2 separate regions of the Homo sapiens genome follow, and region 2 is linked to region 1. Evidence: promoter capture Hi-C in 16 types of primary human blood cells and fetal thymus (Javierre and others, 2016). All regions are on one chromosome and are shown on one strand. The core of a region is centred on a gene start or on the middle of the fragment in contact, and the rest is flanking DNA. Distances in the headings are between cores, read along the strand shown.

Region 1 (3,622 bases), core at 394-2,893:
GCCTCGACCTCCTGGGCTCAGGTGATCCTCCCACCTCAGTTTCCTGAGTAGCTAGGACTACAGGCCGCCACCATGCCTGGCTAATTTTTGTATTTTTTGTAGAGACTGGGTTTCGCCATGCTGCCCAGGCTGATCTCAAACTCCTGGGCTCAAGCGATCTGCCTGCCTCAGCCTCCCAAAGTGCTGGGATTACAGGTGTGAGCCACCGCGCCCGGCCCAACACGGTCATATGTACAACTACTCCACACATGTCCTGACCAAACTCATTATCTGCCTCTCACCTCAATCTTGCTTTTCCTCCCATCCATATGTCCTATCTCAGTTTCTGGCCTGAAGCCTAAACCTTGTTCAATGTCTAAATTTCCCTTTAAAGCAGAGGTTCTTTACAGTTTTTGTGCTCTGGATTCTGTAGTAGGCAGAATTTTGGCCCCACGACCTTCACTTTCTGGTGTCATGCGGGTGAATATGTTATATTACACAGCAAAAGGGACTTCACAAACGTAATTAAGGTTACCAGTCGACAGTAACATAGGGAGATTATCCTGGATTTTACAGGTGGTTCCAAAGTAATCACATGAGCTCTTAAAAGTAGAGAATTTTCTCTGGCTGTAGACAAGTGATGGAGCAAAAGGGGAAGCAACACATATCTGAAGGGCAGGAAAGATTCGATGTGTCATTACAGGCTTCAAAATAAAGAAAACTGCATGTCAAGGAAACAGGGACCTCTGTTCTACAACCACAATATTTACGGTAGATCTATCTGACTGTCAAAATACCAAAGTGCTCCACGTGGCCAAATAAAAGGGCAATTCCTTCCAGGACCCCAAAACGGGAGTCTGGTCCCTCTGCATATGACCCCTGTCTGTGTCGAGTTAAGGGTGTTCCTCTCCTTACTATACCTACAGAAGAAAATCTTTATTGTGTAACCAAACTTTAAAAGTCCTCCACAGTCGGCTCTGAAACTACGTATCCCAGAGAGGGGAACATCTCCTGCATCTGTTCATCCGGAAAGACAGGCACACTTCAGACCCTTAAAACCAGACCGTGCGTTAAGGGCAACGCACGCGCCAGACCTCCAGTAAATAGGCGAGTTAAAAAAAAAAAAAAAAGAAAATAAAAGAAAGAAAGAAAGAAAAGAAGAAGAAAGAAAGAGAGAAAGAGACAGAGAAAGAGAAAGAGGAAAAAAAGAAAAAAAAAAAAAAAAAGCACAATCCATAAGGGGAAATTCCGGCCGGAGAAAACAGAGAATGGAAGACTCCGGAGGAGTACTAGAAAAATCGAGCCTTCCACCCGCTACAGGTATCCCTGAGGCGTCGGGCACGAGACCCCGCTCCCAGCAGGCCTCCAGGCCGCCCCTTGCCCGGCTCCTTCGCACCGCCTGCTCCAGCAAGGAGGAGGGCGGCGCGCAGGAGGCCAGCGCTGGGGACCAGGAACCCTACCTCTCAGCGATGTAAAGGGTACCAGTGCCGAGGCCCTTCCCGTTCAGCACAGCCTCAGTGTCTGGCTGCTGCCGCAGGAGCCCCTCCGCTGGCCCAGGCGGCGGGAAACTTTTGAGGAAGCTCATAGCAGCAGAGTGCGGCAACACAGGCCCTGAGGGAGTTGGAGCACAGCAATGCGTGCACCACACCGCCCGCCCTGGAAGAGGCAGTCACCCCGGAAGAACAACTTAGTCTGCCCCGGAATCTGAACGCCGTCGACCATAGAGATGAGACATTCTAGGAAAAGCGGCGGAGGTCGGCTAAGAACGTGTGGAGTTTGACCGCGCAACACCCTTCCCCTTCTTCCTCGCCATTTCTGAGGCTTTGGGCTTCAATAACTGAGGGTTCTGTGGGAAGTCCCTCAGGATTGTCACAGTGAAACCACCACTGCAAAATTATAACTGAGACACTGAAAGCGATCTGACCTACCCAAATCCATGTTGTTTCTAACCTCCAAACTGTCCTTGTTCATTGCTGGATATAGGCTGAACTAACTTTGGGAGGAACTTAGTTTACAGTTTGAAGTTTAAAACAAAGATGATGACAGCCTTTTCCCAAAACAAACTTCCTTCTTGCCTGGGGACTGGACTGCCTTTGTAGGACTAACAAATCAGCCACAAGATTAGAAATTATGGTTTAGATTAGAAATTACAGCTGCAAGCTACAAGATTCTGACCCTCCCTAAACTGCACCTAAGATCGGTGCTTGAGATATGTTGCAGACCCTGCACTTGATGGATCAGCTGGCACCACCAGATGGATAAACTGGCTATGTGATCTTGTGCCCCCTCCCCACCAACCCAGGAACTGACTCAGCGCAAGAGGACAGCTTCAACTCCCTGTGACTTCATCTCCCACCCAACCAATCAGCACTCTTGACTCACTGGCCTTCCCCAACCTGCCAAATTATCCTTAAAAACTTGGATCCCTGGCTGGGCGCGGTGGCTCACGCCTGTAATCCCAGCACTTTGGGAGGCCGAGGCGGGCGGATCACGAGGTCAGGAGATCAAGACCATTCTGGCTAACATGGTGAAACCCCGTCTCTACTAAAAATACAAAAAAATTAGCCGGGTGTGGTGGCAGGCGCCTGTGGTCCCAGCTACTGGGGAGGCTGAGGCAGGAGAATGGCGTGAACCCGGGAGGCAGAGCTTGCAGTGAGCCGAGATAGCGCCACTGCACTCCAGCCTGGGCGACAGAGCGAGACCCCGTCTCAAAAAAAAAAAAAAAACAACAAAAAACAAAAAACAAAAAAACTTTGATCCCTGAATGCTCTGGGAAACTGATTTGAGTAAAAATAAAACTCTAGGCCGGGTGCAGTGGCTCATGCTTGTAATCCCAGCACTTTGGGAGGCCGAGGCGGGCAGATCACGAGGACAGGAGATCGAGACCAGCCTGGCTAACACGGTGAAACCCCGTCTCGACTAAAAATACAAAAACAAAATTAGCCGGGCGTGGTGGCAGGTGCCTGTAGTCCCAGCTACTCGGGAGGTTGAAGCGGGAGAATGGCGTGAACCCGAGAGGCGGAGCTTGCAGTGAGCCGAGGTCGCGCCTTGGCACTCCAGCCTGGGCGACAGAGAGAGACTCCGTCTCAAAACAACAACAACAAACTCTAGTCTCCTGCACAGCAGCTCTGCGTGAATTACTGTTTTTCTGTTACAATTTCCATCTTGATAAATCAGCTCTGTCTAGGCAACAGGCAAGGTGAACCCATTGGGCCATTACAGCAGCAACCCTGTTACAACCCTGTAACCCAGTTACATACAACCCTGTTGTAACTGCCCAATGGGATCACCGTGCCTGCTGCTTAGACAGAGCCTATTTATCAAGACAGGGGAATTGCAATAGAGAAAGAGTAATACACCGGTGGCAATGGCTCACGCCTGTAATCCCAGCATTTTGGAGGCCGAGGCGGACGGATCACCTGACGTCGGGAATTCGAGACCAGCCTGACCAACATGGAGAAACCCCGTCTCTACTAAAAATGCACAATTAGCCTGGCGTGGTGGCGCATGCCTGTAATCCTAGCTACTCGGGAGGCTGAGGCAGGAGAATTGCTTGAACCCGGGAGGCGGAGGTTGCGGTGAGCCGAGATCACGCCATTGCACTCCAGCCTGGGCAACAAGAGCGAAACACTGTCTCAAAAAA
Region 2 (3,365 bases), core at 414-2,913, 550 kb after region 1:
GTTTAGTCAGATCCATTTTCCCCACCTGGATTTTCAAAACTTTTTAATTTTGAAATGCTCTGTTCAATTTTCAATCTGGAATCTAAAGGGATGTGACAAGGCCGAGGTGATTACTTGGGAGTAAATGCAAGGAGAGTTTCCACTGCGTAAGGGAATGGACAGCACGTGGCTGGGTAAATTTCAAAAAAGACAATGCTCAGAGTGAGTACTGTGTTTTCCAGTAAGTGGGAGACTTCCCCACCTTACCCCACCGGAGAAAGGACTCTTTGCCTTGAAGCCCCTAGGACGACTACCCTTTCTTCACCTCCTCTTCCTGACCACCCCACATCAAAGAGCTGCGTCTATAATTCTGTCTTGCCCAGTCCATATCTCTAAGAAATCCGAAGGCTGCTCTATTACCATCACAACCCATAGGGAGGAGAGAAAAGGTGCTTCCTAGACACAGGGACCCCAGAATGAGCTGCGCAAAAGGCAGGAGGAGAGAAAGGTGGGCTGGAAGAAGGAGACCACGGAATCTGGCACGGCAAGGTATTCTTTCATCTGGCGTAGACCTCCAACAACCACTACCATCCCCCAGCCCCTTCCAGAACTTTCCTTCACCTTCTCGGCTCACTCTCACGCTTCACCTTGTGCTTTTCCTCCGGCACCAGCACCCCATTTCAAACCGCTCTCTTCCTATGTCTCCTCCAAACAGTAATTTATAAACACCGTGCTTTCAAATCCATCTCATTTCATCCTCACAGTACTATAGGAGGGCTGCCTTACAGGCTGTCATTCGGAAGGGTTGGGGGGACTGGTCCTGCCAGACAATTTGCGAAGGTCGGGGCATCAAAACTTTTCTTTCCTGCCTCCCACGCCAAGCTAAACCTCTGCCTCCCCGAGTGCAGGGAGAAAAGCAAGGTCTTTGAAGTAAGGAGTCCTGAGTGGTTTTAGGCAAGTCCCTTCGCTTTTCTGAGCCTCACATTCCTCACCTGTCAACCGCTATAGTGACGCCTCTACTTTTCAGGGCGTGGGAGGTCAATGAGATCACTGGTGTGCCGCACTGAACTCGGGGATGGACTCTTTATTTCCAGTCAGTAAAGGGAGGTGTTCTATGCATCACAGGCTTTTGCCCACGCCGCCACAGCGCGGCCGGCCCAGGGCTCTCCAGAGCGGGGCAAGTTCCCTGTCATCTGTGTCTCCGCCCTTCCTTCCCCAATCTCACCCAGGCTGGCCTCATCGGCTTGTTCCGCACCCACTCCCCAGCCCTACAGCCCCCACTCCGACCTGACAAGTGCCCCACCCCCACCTAGAGATCCCGCCTCTCCTTGCCCCACCCACCAAGGACTCCTCCCACAGTCCCGACCCTCATTATCCGGGCTTTTCCGACTATCACCATCCGCCCTTGCTCTCCCAACAGCCCCGCCCCTCTAAGAGCTCTGCCCACTTCGGCTCACCTCGCTCCGAAACGCGCCCCCTCCCCCGCACCACAGGCGATGCCATCCCCATTTCACAGATGGGAATGGCGAGGCTGGGATAGATTAGTCTCATGGTAAGACAGGTGCTCAGTGGGCCCACGTACCCTCGCCGGTAGTCCCCGAGCCCCGCGACCCCGGCCGTGCCGCACCCACCTCCTGCCCTCGCTCTGCAGCCTCTCCCTCCGCGAGCGGCCAGCGCAGCTTTGCGAGGGGGGCGGAGGGTAGGAGCCCAGCCCAGGGGCGTGGCGGTCCGGGGTCTGTGCGCTGCCTTCCGGGACTGGTAGTTCTCTCTGGGCTCCTCGCAGCTCGGCGCGTCGAGAGCGAACTCCATCTCCCAGGAGGCATTGCAGCGAGTTGCTCTGCGCCCCGCCTCGTCCCCGCCGGTGTCCGGCCGGCTGGCCTTAAAGGGGACGCGGTCAGAGTGGCAGCTCGCGGGGTGGCCCCCGCTCCGGCTCCGCCCCATTTCACGCACCTCGCCCCTCCCCATGCTTCATCCCGCAGCCCCGGGGCCGCGCCGCAGAGTCGGGCTTCCTGGATACATAGAGGCTTGTGCCAGGCGGGGTGGGAAGACTGGATTTTGCAGTGGAAGCAGCATCTCTTCCGTCTGGGACCTGGCTGAGGGCGTCCCCACCCTGGGGGGAGCAGAGGACCAGCCCTGACCTAGCCGGGCCCAGCCTCGTCCTGCCCGGCCTGAGCGCCCCGCCCAGCAGCCGGCTCTGGCCCACCGGGGTCCGGGAGGTAAGGGGGTTGGGGGCGTGTGACTGTCTTTGGGGGGCGGTGTCTGCACCCTGGCCTTTCGAGAACCCTGGACTTGCGAGCCCAGGGCTGGGAGTCGGGAGATCTGGGTGCATCCTGGGCCTCCTGGGCCTCACTGTGTGACCTTGGGCGAGTAGCTATTCCTCTCTGGGCATTAATCCCCTCCCTTCATCAATTGTATGTCGAAGTGATCCTGCTCCCTCCCCTTTCAGGTAAGAGGGCATTCGCACCCAGTACCTAGTACATTCGCTTGCTGGCTTTTCGTGGGGCCCTCCAGCTCAAGCGTGGGCTGGGCGCGGGTGCACTGGAGGGAGGGAGGTGGCACAAACTGGGGGGCCCGAGGCCACCATTGCTTGGAATGGGCTTTTCCTATTCTCAGTGTGCTGGGCCCTGGGATACCCTCCCCAACCCCCTCTTACGGCCCTGGCCCTTGCAAACCGGAGACCCTGATGTGTCAGCTTGGTGCCCTTCCTTCCAGAAAGCTTGGGGTGGAGTGCGGCCCTCACAGGTTTGTGAGGGGTGGCCCCGCAGGGATAGGTGTGTGTGGTGGGTTCCTGAGGAGGAATAGCTGCTCCTGCTTTCTTCCCTTCTCTCTCCTCCTTATCCTTTGAGGAAGAGCAGCTGCTTTTTACCAGTGAAACCCTTTTTTCTTTTTCTTTCCAGGAGACAGTTTGGTGGCCCAGACATGGGCCTCCCGGAGTAGGGTGAAGCACTTCTTCCCAGGGTTGCCTTGGGTAGAAGTTCAGTTAAAAAATACCTAGAGAGATGCTGCCATTCAGACACCTGAGGGGCCAGAGATGGAGGGCACCACCTGGTGTCGGGAGGGGCAGCCTGGTACCCCCAAGGAAGCTCTGGCTCCCAGGGGAGTCAAAGGAGGGAGGCTGGCTTCGAGGGTCAGAGAGGGGAGGAAATGTGCTCCTCAGCTCTTAGGTGCTGAGCAGAGGCTGGGAGGGGCTGCTCTGACCTGGAGCAGGGAGAGGTTGAGTAACACCATGAAGCCTTCTTCTCAGGTCCTAGGAGATTCTGTGAGCTTTTGACCTGAAGGCTAACCAGGAACAGATTTTTGTTTTGTTTTGTTTTGTTTTTGTTTTGTGCTTTTTCTTTTGCTTTGGTTGTTTGAACAATTTCTAGAATGGCTAAAGCCTCAGTCCA

What was found. The method cuts DNA at HindIII sites, captures the fragments that hold promoters and counts their contacts. A CHiCAGO score of 5 or more calls a contact.
Region 2: the fragment with the promoter of KCTD21 here is called in contact with the fragment with the promoter of CLNS1A in region 1 in 1 of 17 cell types (erythroblasts); the score reaches 5.8 in erythroblasts.

The regions. Positions count from the first base shown.
Region 1 is chr11:77,636,151-77,639,772 of GRCh38, forward strand. CLNS1A (chloride nucleotide-sensitive channel 1A) reads right to left here and starts at 1,644. Exons shown (of 7, transcript NM_001293.3): 1 at 1,440-1,644. The coding sequence starts at 1,564. RefSeq lists enhancers at 1,372-1,891, 1,546-1,785. The HindIII fragment of the contact is 10,516 bases long and covers 1-3,622 here.
Region 2 is chr11:78,186,963-78,190,327 of GRCh38, forward strand. It overlaps KCTD21 (potassium channel tetramerization domain containing 21), which reads right to left and starts at 1,664. Exons shown (of 2, transcript NM_001029859.3): 1 at 1,611-1,664. USP35 (ubiquitin specific peptidase 35) reads left to right here and starts at 1,957. Exons shown (of 11, transcript NM_020798.4): 1 at 1,957-2,195. RefSeq lists silencers at 1,381-1,720, 2,151-2,310. The HindIII fragment of the contact is 4,363 bases long and covers 1-2,693 here.